2 separate regions of the Homo sapiens genome follow, and region 1 is linked to region 2. The links are contacts of gene promoters, found by promoter capture Hi-C in human tissues and cell types (Jung and others, 2019). All regions are on one chromosome and are shown on one strand. Each heading gives the region's core, a stretch centred on a gene start or on the middle of the fragment in contact. The rest is flanking DNA. Distances are from core to core; before and after follow the strand shown.

Region 1 (6,158 bases), core at 500-2,999, 690 kb before region 2:
GCTCAGAGAGGTTACATGACCAACTGAAGATCACACAGCTATCATCTCATTTTTCCAATCTTCTTAAGAAAACCACATTGATAAAGGAAGTCTTTGAGGTTGCCTATTTGTATTACATAATAATTCCCAGAAGGTTTCTTGGGTGATTTAAAAATAGGATTTGGGCTGGGCACAGTGGCTCATGCCTATAATCCCAGCACTTTGGGAGGCTGAGGTGGGAGGATCGCTTGAGTCCAGGAGTTTGAGACCAGCCTGGGCAACATAGTGAGACCCTGTATTTACAAAAAATGAACAAAATTACCTGGGCTTGGTGATGTGTGCCTGTAGTCCCAGCAACTTGGGAGGCTGAGGCGGGAAGATCACTGGACCCTGGGAGATCGAGGCTGTGATGAGCTGAGATCGCACCACTGTACTCCTGCCTGGGAGACAGAGTGAGACCCTGTCTCAAAAAATAATAAATCAATAAAAGTAGGATTTGATTTATAGAGTGTTGGTTTCAGACCTTCTCCCCATCCCAGGAACCTCACAGGTCAGAAGTTGCGGACACATTCAAACAGACCCGGAGCCTCCGCTGAAATGATACTGGGTACGGGAAGTGGAGTAGGGGTGGGGGCAGATAGCTGCTGCCCATCCTGCTCCCAAGCAGCAGCCTTAGATCAGGGGTTGGTGCTAGTGGTAGGGGGGTCCCTGCTTGCAAAGTGAGGCACCCCAGGCCTCTGGAGCCTTCAGTGCCTTCTAGAGCTTTCCCTTCCAGTCCTGTCTCCCCTACCTCATCCGATCCATAAGAGCAACCAGAACTCTCCTCCTCCCAACTGCACCTTCTCCCGATCCCTGATCACTAGCCCAGGCAGGTTGGCTCTTAAAACCCCCATTTTATAGCTCAGAAAACTGAGGCTCAGAGAGGGGAAGTGACTTAGAGCTCATACAGTTTAGGAAGTAACCAAGCTAACATTCTAACCCCAAATCTAGCACCCCTTCCTCTGCACCCCAGTCCTTCTGGAATCAGAGCAGAATGGGGACCCCAGAGAGTGTTGTTGTAGCCTCTGTACCCTGCTTCCCAAACAGAGAGATTGTCCAGCTACTGCAGGGAGTGTGGCTGGAAGGAGCTTGGGGTAGAAAGGGGGGTAGTGGCCGGTGGGCGCCTTCCCCCAGGCTTGTGTCAGAGTTGAGGGCGAGAGTGGGCCCAGCAGGCAGGAGGATCACTTTGACTAGGGCACTGAGCTGGGCTGGTATGGACGTCACTGAGCAAGTAAATATGGAACCGCCCCCACAATGTCAGCTTTCCCGGAGTGGCTTCTCCCACTATCTCTCACTTTCCCCAAGGGAAAGGGGTGAGGGCCAGGAAAGGATCTGGCTGCCCGATGCCAGGGGATGGAGATGGCCGGCTTGGGAGGCTCCACGATGGCCAAGGGGCATGGGGAGGAGCCCACCAGACCCTCAGCCCCAGAAGGAAGTGAGCTTCTCTTGGGAGCAGCCAACTGGGACCCAGCCAGGGCGGACTCAGCACCGTCATGGCCCAAGGTACAGAGAGGGCGGGCTCTGGGGGTTGCCGGGAGGTGGTTGGCTGGGGCTTGTCCCTGACCTCACAGCCCTTTACTGTTCCAACCCAAACAGAGTGTCATTTTCCCAGGGGCCAGGGGTGCCCCTCTTTAGGCCGGCTGTGTTCCAAGAGAAAGAAAGACCAGCCAGAGGGGGTTTGCATTTGGAGAGGGGGTGCAGGGGTGCCTCAAGGAGGGGTGGAGAGGGAGGAAGGAAAAGCCCCTTAGCCTGAGGGAGGCAGAGGGCAGGGAGGTGAAGTCCTCAAGGGAAATCAGCAAGCTTAGCAGCCAGGGAAACCGGCAGTCTCTCTTGACCCCAGAGAGGAGATATTGGGTCTCCAGAAGAGCAAGCAGAAAAGGAGGATCCAGGGCAGAGTGTCTGGCTGCCAGACCCTGGGCCTTTTATAAACATCAGCGACAGCCGAGCCCAAATGAGTGTGGACGGGCATGTTCCATTCAACCCTCATAGCTGTCCCATGATGCTAGTGTTATTAGGTGCAGTTTACAGAGGTAACATTGAGGCCCAGAGAAGTGAGGTGACTCACCTAAGGTCACACAGCTATGAAAGGCTGAGCCAGGATATGAACCTAGGTCTGTCTGATTCCAGAGTCTGAGCTCTTTATCACAGCATGGGACTGGCTTGCTGGGACTGCAGTGGGAGATAAGGTCAGCCATCCATGCTGGGCAGGAGTTTGGATGGCTAACTTACAGATTCCAAGTTCCTTCCCCTGAGATGATGGGCAGTGTAAAGAAAGTACAGCATATGAGCCACTGTGGCTCAGGCAGGTCACCCTCTCTGTGCCTTTATGCGGCCACTTGAAGAATGGGGATGCCTAGCATAAGGACCGGCCATGTTACAGCATTTTCAAACCTTCCCATCCATTGTCTGGGTCAGCAGATGTTCATGGAGCGGCCCCTTGTGCTCTGGGGTCCAGACGTACACACCTGACTCTTGATGGGCCCTGCACCAGGTTCCTCTTGGAACACTGGGAGCACAGTGGCTCTGCCAGGCAATGGAGACCGTGGTCCGCAGACCTCTGCCCATCCTGAGCTGTGCTGGATGGGTGTATGGTGAGAGACATGCAGACTTTGAGAGAAAGCCTTGAGAAACTTGTTTGGCAACTTGACATTGCCACATCATTTTTAATTTTATTTCACAAAAATATCTGTTGGCATCAGATTGGAAAACTTAAAAAGTAAAGAAGTCACTTCACCTCAAATTTCTTGAGCAGCTCTTGCCTGGGTCTTGGGATTGAAGGTAGGATGCGCCTGGCTTGCTCATGGATATGGGGCAGAGGAGAGCAAGTCATTTCGCCCTGGAGGTGGAGAGGGAGGATCTGGTTAGGCCTCCCAGAGGAGGTGACGATGAGCTGGACCTTGAGGGAGGAGCGGGGGTTTGCCAGGCGGAGGGAGAGGGAAGGGCATTTTAGGCACTGGGAACAGTATGTGCAAAGGCAGGAACAGGAGGACCCCATGGTTCAGGAATGGCAAGCGGTCATGGGTGTTTAGAGAAGCAGTGGAGTTGGCTGGGGAGAGGCAGGTGAGGGCCAGGCCGGGAGGGCCTTGAATGCTGTGTGAAGGAATTGAGACTTTGCCCTGGAGGCACGGGGGAGCTGTCGGTGGTTTGTAAGCAGGGGAGAGAAGTAGTTAGCTTTGCGCCACAGAAACTCTGTCCAGGTGGCAGTGGACTTGAGGTGGCCATGGCTGAGTAGGTGGCTTAGAGCAGTGGTCTCCAACCTTTGGGGCACAAGGGACCATTTCATGAAGGACAATTTTTCCATGGACGGGGTCGGGGAGGATGGTTTGGGGATGAAACTATTCCACTTCAGATCATCAACTGTTCCACCTCGGATCATCAGGCATTCGTTCAATTCTCAAAGGAGCACACTCCTAGAGCCCTCGCATGCGCAGTTCACGGTAGGGTTCGCGTCCTATGATAATCTAGTGCTGCCTGTGATCTGACAGGAGGCAGAGCTCAGGCGTTAATGCTTGCTAGCTCGCCTGCCACTCGTCTCCTGCTCTGCAACCTGGTTCCTAACAGGTTATGGATCAGTACCCATCCGTGGTCCAGGGGTTGGGGACCTACGCCTTAGAGGACCAAAGAGGCCATCCAGGTGTATGCTTCCTTTCCACCGCCAACCTCCCAGAAGGCTGTTCCTCGATTGTGTCTTGTGGAGTAGGTTGCTGATGCACAGGCCTCTCTTTGTCCCCTGAGTCGGTCCTGGCTGATGGGCAGGCAGCCCTCGGGTGTGAGCAGCATGGCCTTTCCAGGCTGGCCTGGTTGGTGGGGTCACACCTGGGGTCATGGGCTGGCCATGGCAGAACTCTCTTGTCCACACTGCCTGCCCTACTAGAGCTGCAGGAACGTGGACTGGTGGGCTGTCAAATGGGTGCTGGGTACAGTTTGGGGTACAGTCCAGAGCCGTGTTCAGGGAAAGCTGTCAGAAGGGAGGGCTGAAGTTTGAGCTGAGGTTGGGCCATTGCCCAGGCCCTGGGTACCTGGTCTCTGATGGCATGGGGTCTGTGCAGGAGGTGAGCAGTGGGCAGCAGGCTGAAGTGGCTTCCTGCATGGATCCTCTGATGGGCCAGGGCTGAGACCTGCCTCTGTGGCCTGAGGAGCAAACATCTGGTTGAGGTAGCGAGGGAAAAGTTAAAGTCATTCCCAACCCAGCCCAGTTCAAAGCAGACAGTGCAGTGTCAGGGAGTCGCTGGTCTTCAACTCTGTCACAGCCTCCTGTCCCTAGAGTAACTGACCTGCCCTGTCCCAGGGCTGCTGGGAACAGACCAAGGTGTGCCTGGGCCTGCATGTGGCCACAAGCCCACGGAGGCCCTGCCTGGGAAGGAACTGTTGGAAGCGCCTCTCCTGCCTGCCCCACCTCCACCCTCCTCTGGGGCCCCAGTTCAGGGTGGCCCAGCCCCTGCCTCCCTCCCTGCAGCTCCCAGACAGGCTGGGCCCCAGCAGCAGGCCGGGCTGTCTGGCTGCTGTTCAACAGGGAGTCCAGCTGCCTGGGGTCCTACAGAACGGGGCTGGGCAGGCATTCTTCTCTGTCCAGGCTCTGGCTTCAGGGCCAGGAAGGCAGGAGTTGTTGAGGTGCCTTAGTTTTAACAGTGGTCTTGGTCATGTGTGGAGGCTCAGGATTAGAGTCCTCACCCTGTCTGCTGTACCCGACTTGGTTGGTCCCACACTGAACTCATGACTTGCCATAGAGCGAGGGCCTCCCTGACGGGAGCTGGGGAGCAGGCCCTGGGACAGCTGAGCCTAACTCAGGCTTCGTCTTTCTGCTCCACCCTTCCCCAAAGCTGATCCTTTCACTGTGCAGGCCTGCTGAGACCTCCTTGCTTCTCGGTGCCCCCCCTTCTCTAAGGACAGACACCCTGAGCCTGTTGTGCATGGCTTCTGCCACTTCTCAGCAAGACCTCCTAATCAAATCCTCCAAGGTTGTCCGTGTCCGGGTCCAGGGGCACAGTCTGGCCCCTTTGCTCATCGCAGCCTGTCTTGGCTTCTCCCGGGGACTGTGCTCCGCCCTCCCTCTCCTTGAGCCCCCCCTTCCTAGTTCTGTGGCCTGCCCTGTCCCAGTTCCCTCAGCTACCGGTGAGGAAAGGACCCACTGGCCCAGCTCCCAGGGGTCTGCTCCCCGGGCTTCGGTTAGAAACCAGACTCCTCCCTGGCACCTGCCAGTGGCTCCCCTGCCCTCCCTGAGCACCCTGGCCCCAGGCCCAGGACAGTGGCCAAGAAAGTCTCCTCTGCCCTTTTAGACTCACTCTCATTTCTTCCTGGACCCTTCCATCCTGGAGAACCCTCCGCCTGCTGCCTCCTGGGCCCAGCAGTGGCCTCCTTCCTGGCTGCCCTGGGCTCCTGGCCTGGCAGCAGTCTGGCTGCTTCTGGAGCTCAATTGTTGCCACCCCCTTTTCTCAGAGCCCAGTGTCTGAGGCGTGGGTGGGCCTCACATGTTGTGGGAGTCCCTGTGGTTCACAAAGAGGCTAAGTGGGCCTGGTCTCATTTCATCTGTGCAGCAAGCTTGGGAGTAGCTACTGTTCGCCCAGTTTGCGGATGAAGGAGTTGAGGCCCCAGAGGGTTCAGCAACTTTGTCAAGGTCTTGTGGGACATCAGGGACTTAGACCCACATGTCCTGACTCTCCTCGTGACCACATAGCTGTCTTGGAGGTAATGGCCTCCTTGGCCTCTGCTTGCTGTATTGTCAGGGTCTGGCCAGGGCTCACAGGCTCAGTCTATGTTTGGGGTCGGGGCTTATGGGCCTGCCTGGGCCTTTGCCTGGGCTTAGTACTAGTCACCGTCAGTGGCAGTTAGCTCTGTGAGCATTTATAACTGCTTTCTTCTCCTCCTTCCTTCCTGAACTGTTGACACCAGTGTCAGATCCTCTTAGGGACACAGCCTTTATCCCTGAAGCATCCCTGAAGCTGGTCACAATTGGCCAGGGCTGGGGGCTGCAGAAACAGAATGGGCCAGGAGTCACTGGGGGAAGATGGCTGGGGCAAGGTAGACTCTGAAGAGTTGGCTTGTGCGCCTCTGACTGCCCAACCCATTTCTTCTTGAGTCACATTGAAGATCCACAACTCCAGCCTCTCCCTTCTGCAGGGTCTGATGCTCTGTGCTTCCTT
Region 2 (5,732 bases), core at 2,540-5,039:
TTATTTCTCTCGAAGAGACAATAGTACCCCATTACATTTCACTTCCTTAGCAATGTACAGGTTTCTTTGGTCTCTGTCCAATTTCTCTGTGTCCCTTTTAAAGTGTAAAAACCCAAAGTGGACTTTGCACTCTAGTATTCTATCTAGTGTCAGATTTACTTCCCGATTCTTTTTTTTTTTTTTCCGAAGTCTCACTTCGTCACTCAGACTGAAGTCTGGTGGCGTGATCTTGGTTCACTGTAATCTCCACCTCCCGGGTTCAAGTAATTCTGCTGCCTCAGCCTCCTGAGTAGCTGGGATTACAGGCACGCGCCACCACACCTGGCTACTTTTTGTATTTTTAGTAGAGACGGGGCTTCACCATGTTGGCCAATCAATTCCTGACCTCAAATGATCCTCCTGCCTCGGCCTCCCAAAGTGCTGGGATTACAGGCGTGAGCCACCGCACCCACCCTACTTCCCGATTCTTGAATGTTACACTGTTAATATACTGAAGCAATATGCAATTATTCAATGAAGTATTAATAGTTCATCTTTATCAACTTGACAACACAAACCACAAAAAAACACAAAAGTAATGATGCAGCAATATACAACATGCTTAATATTTTAAGTTTTAAAAAAGCTGGGCCGGGTGCAATGGCTCATGCCTATAATCCCAGCACTTTGGGAGCCCAAAGAGGGAGGATCGATTGAGGCTAGGAGTTGATTGCTTCAAGACCAGCCTGGGCAACATAGCAAGACCCCTGTTTTTACCAAGAAAAAAATGTTTTTTAAATTAGCTGGGCATGGTAGTGTGTGCCTGTAGTCCTAGCTACTCAGGAGGCTGAGGCAGGAGGATCCCTTGAGCCCAGGAGTTTGAAAATGTATTGAACTAGGGTCACAGCACTGCACTCCAGCTTGGGTGACAGAACAAGACCCTGTCTCAAAAAAAAAAAAAAAAAAAAAAAGAACAGGCTGGACACGGTCGGTGGCTCACACCTGTAATCCCAGCACTTTGAGAGGCCAAGGCAGGTGGATTGCCTGAGGTCAGGAGTTCAAGACCAGCCTGATCAATATGGTGAAACCCTGACTCTACTAAAAATACAAAAATTAGCCCAGCGTGGTGGCTGCCACCTATACTCCCAGCTACTTGGGAGGCTGATGCACGAGAATTGCTTGAGCCCAGGAGGCAGAGGTTGCAGTGAGCTGAGATCACGCCACTGCACTCCAGCCTGGGTGACAGAGCAAGACTCCATCTCAAATTAAAAAAAAAAAAACAAACAAAAAAAAAAAAAAAAACACAACCCAGGGAGCACTGAACCTCTGCTTTGATTAAAGTTTTAAAACTTAAATGTTTGTGGACAAAGTCTAGAAGGCAACATGAAGATAAGAAATAATTGATTTGTTAGGTTTTGGGAACTGAGGTTGATTACTTGTTTTTTCATTATTGGCAAAATTTCAAGGACTTTAAAAAAATAAGTAAAATATTTTATGTAGTCAGCAACTTATGGAGCCCACATTACATGTAAGACCCAGGGCTGAGCATTACAAGGAAGACAAAACCAGACACAGGTCCTGCTGTTCAGAATAACAGTAGCTGACACAGTACAAATGCTTACTATATCCTAAGTGCTATTATCACCCTATTGCAAAGATTAAGAAAGTGAGGAACAGAGAGGTTAACTAGCTTATCCAAGGTCACAGAGAATAAAAGCAGAACTAGAATTTGAACTCAGCAACTCCAATGTGCAAAGCCTCAGGTTTAACCATTACATCACACTGCCTCTCATGATAGCTTAATAAGAGAGCGAGGGGAGGGGAGGGAAGTGACTTTTGATCATTCAACAAATGTTTTTTGAGCACCTACTATATGTTAGGTACCAGAGTACCAGCTGAGAAGACACTGAAAAGTAAGACAAGCACAGTCCCTGCCTCACAGGGTTCACGGAATACAGATATAGCATTATGGGAATTTAGAGGAGAAAAAGGGAAGAGGACCCATCTCTGAGGTTAAGGGAGAACCACCTCCTTACACTCTGTTTCATTCCTAGCAAAGCACCAACCTTGTGGAGAGAAGAGGGCATAGGAGAGGGGGAACACAAAACCTTAAAATAAAAGTAATGAAAGATTGCATCGATTTATTCAGCAAGAATTTGGAAAGGAAATTCAAAAATAAGGAAAGGGTCAGGTAAGCGGACTAGGATAAACCTTTAAGAGCCTGCCAATATGAGACTCTAGTTCAATTTTTACTCAAATAATCCTTGAGCGTTAGGTGCCAAGCCCTGAGCTAGACTTCAGACATACAACTGTATGTAAATAAGCCACAGCCCCTGCTCTCCAGGAGTTTATACTCTAATGGGGCAGAAAGACTTTTAAGCAAGAAATTTCAGTATTGTGTGCCAAGACAAGTGACCAAAAAGAAGCACAGAATAAGATGGGGCACTATTCAGGTTGGGATCAGACAGCAAGAAGGTGACATCTATACTGAACAATGATACAGAGCAAACTGGAGTTAGAAACAAAGATGGAAGAGGGAGTGTGATCTAGACTGCTGGAACAGCTCGTGAAAAGCCCTGGAAATGACAGAGAATGCCTAGGATTGCAGTGACACTGGTTTAGAGAGTGGTGCCAATTAATGCCACTAAATTGCAGACTAAATTACTAAATGCTTTCATCACTCTGTCCCAGGTCCAGGAAGGGTTCCAAGCATGGGCTCAACCTAGGGTCAAGTTGAAACAGACTGTTTTCCACCTGATAACCCCAAAGCTGCAGCTTGACTAAGCCGTCTTAGCCCAAGAGGGTTCCACCTGGCGTCCCAGAAGAATGGGGACAGTGTCCTCCACATCTCTGAACCCTACCCGGAATCCAGTACAGTGCTTTGCACACACTGGATCTACTAAACAGACTAAAAGAAAATAAATTCATCTGATGGCATAATTACTATCTCAATTCAAGTCCCCCACATTCCCAGTCCTTACTCCCAAATCCTCTACTGCTGCATATTAGGGCACTCCTTCCCCGTCCTTAGACTCTGCCACTTGGAATTACCAAGGATCTTCGCACAAAGAGAAGTATAGCTTCGTGGATAAAAGCAGAAATTTCGAAATCAGAATAATCTGGGTGAAATCCTCTTAGCAGCTTTATGATATTGAATAAGTCACTCAACCTGCGGCACCCTCCGTTTTCTTCATCTGTGAAACGAAAACAACAGCAGCTTTTTCACTGGGGTTCGCTAAATGAATGTAACTGGGCTGAGTTGAGAATAGTAAATGAGACCGTCTACGTAAGGAGATGATCATGTCTCTTGCCATATAAAGTGCACTTAATAAATGGCAGCTGTAGTAGAATGATGTAGATGGTGATGGTGACGATGTTGGTGATAATAGGAAGGTCAGCTGTCAGTCTTGCAAGTCACTGGCTGTAGTCACAGCAACCCCTACCAGCCCAGGCAGCTTCTTCTAGAAGCAGGCCCTGAACAGGACGTGGGTAAGAGATCCGCTGTCCCTTGAGACTTGGCCTACTCCCGGCACTCCGCGGACAGCCCCAGCCTGCGGACAGCCCCAGCCTGCGTCACTTGTCCGCATGCCAGCTCCACCCGGGCGGACCCACACATGGTAGGAACGTGAGGGGGCGGGCCTGTTCCGGCGCCTCTGGGCCAATCGCCAGGTGGAAGGCACTCAGCCAATGGCAGAGGGGCTCTGGGGCCCTGTGGGCGGGGACTAAGGGTGGAGTTGCGGCGTCATAGGTCACTGGGCGGGCTATGGGCGGGGTCCACGTCGCCTACCGGGGCGGAGCGGGGGTGGCTGGAGCAGTCTGGACAGTCATGGCGGCGACTGTGGCGACGGCGGCAGCTGTGGCCCCGGCGCCAGCGCCCGGCACGGACAGCGCCTCTTCGGTGCACTGGTTCCGCAAAGGGCTGCGACTCCACGACAACCCGGCGTTGCTGGCGGCCGTGCGCGGGGCGCGCTGCGTGCGCTGCGTTTACATTCTCGACCCGTGGTTCGCGGCCTCCTCCTCAGTCGGGATCAACCGATGGAGGTGAGGGGACCCGGGGCTGGGTGGCGGGGACGCAGCCAGGACCCTGACCCTGGGGTGACCGGCGAACAGCACGATCCCCCCAACCCCGCCACGGCTGGAAGGCCAGAGGGGAGAAGCCGAGACCGGGGAAGTAATTCGTCATGGTCCTAACGCGCCGGTGGGCCAGGGTTCAGCCTCTGACAAAGCGCGTTCGCACTGTTACCCCTTTGAGCCTCACAACTGCCTGTGGAACGGAGATCATGATCCCCGTTGTACAGATGAGACCCTTGAGCCCTGGAGACCCAAAGTCGACCTGCCCAAGGACTTGTAGCCAGTGAGTGGCAGAACAGGGGCTCCTGGTCTAGGGCTCTTACGGTCTACTCAGGGAGGGGCGGAAGGGAGATAACGTAGTGTGAGGGCGGGACGGGTTTTTGCTCGCATTCTTCAAGAGCCCGTTGCTGGGCTCGGGGAGATCACTCCGAAGCCTCTGGCTCGTTTGAATCCGCCCTACCACCCATCCTGGCTACCCTGCACCCAGACCGTCCTGCCTCTAGGGGTGTCAAGTGACCCTGGCTTAGCATTAAATAAGGTCTTCTCCCCTATATTATAAATAAAGAAGCCAAAGGCGTCTTCAGGTGGAGTCGCTTTATGTTCAAAGCTCCAGAGAATCCAGGGGATTCTCCAAAATGTTTTAAGCCCTGCTCTGGAGCTTTGACCTCGATAGAAAAATTTAAAAGAATCCAAAGTGTCACCCCGTCATCCTCTTGTCATGATTTTAGAGGACAGTAGAGCCATTAGAGATGAGACTTTTATGAACTGTTGTGGTAAGGTTAGGGAGCAGGAAAGCCATGATATCAAGGGCCCCTCTGATGACCCCCCAGGAGATGGAGTCGACATGATCATGGAAAAAGATGAACAGGTCGTTAGTGTATTTTCACTGTAAACAGTATTCAAACTAAAGAGTTTTGAGACATAATGTACCCATCGCTCTTCAGAACACCTAGTGGCAGTCGCTCGGTTTGTTTGCATTGTTCTGGGGAATGTTTGCTTGTGGCCTTGTTGCATCGATGGACAGGGTTATTTCCAGGATACCGTGGCTCTCGGCACACCATTCTTTTCTCTCCAAGGTGTGTGCCCTGCTAAGAGAGTGAGTGCTGCTAGCAGTGGGCCTGTTCAGTGTCCCCTCCTGCCCAGAAGGAACAACTAAGGAGTCCTGTGGAGAGCCTGCCCACAGTTTTCAGGCTGCCTTATTGCTCTGTCTCTGCTCCAGTTTTCTACAGATAGGAGGTTGGGTTTGACAAGCATCATCAAATGACCATCCCTAGTGTGCACATTAAGCCAAGCCTCAGACTTTGCCCTGCACCAGTCGGAGCCAGGCAAATGGAATCCGACTACCTTCTTGTTACATTGTCACAGAGTTTCTTCTTTTATTGGGTTTTGGGGGACATTGCATAGTACTGCCTACTCTTTTTTGATAGGGAAGATTAAAAATCAACAATAAAATTCCTGTTGATTAAACTCCAGTTTGCTAGGAACCAGGTGTTTATGGATTTTTGTGGGTCATCATTTTGTGATCGTGCTATCAATCTAGTGAAGAAGAAAAGGAATGTGGCTCAGATGCCTGAGTCAAATCCTGAAGTCAGAGGCTGTGTAAGAATGCAGATATTAATTGATCACTTAATAAGTGCCTAATATCTGCCAGGTACTGCTCTAGATGTTGCTAGGGATACAGC

The links. Contacts are between HindIII fragments. The study calls those that stand out against the background at their distance.
Region 1: a fragment that was not itself captured here is called in contact with the fragment with the promoter of CRY2 in region 2 in 1 of the 25 tissues and cell types used here (dorsolateral prefrontal cortex).

Annotation. Positions count from the first base shown.
Region 1 is chr11:45,153,910-45,160,067 of GRCh38, forward strand. All of the region lies in intron 1 of PRDM11 (PR/SET domain 11), which reads left to right. Among named protein-coding and RNA genes, the nearest start is that of PRDM11, 10 kb to the left of the region's middle. The HindIII fragment of the contact is 3,876 bases long and covers 1-3,687 here.
Region 2 is chr11:45,843,686-45,849,417 of GRCh38, forward strand. CRY2 (cryptochrome circadian regulator 2) reads left to right here and starts at 3,790. Exons shown (of 12, transcript NM_021117.5): 1 at 3,790-4,020. The coding sequence starts at 3,806. RefSeq lists enhancers at 3,241-3,350, 3,401-3,450, 3,811-4,050, 3,981-4,502 and a silencer at 4,451-4,560. The HindIII fragment of the contact is 4,522 bases long and covers 3,061-5,732 here.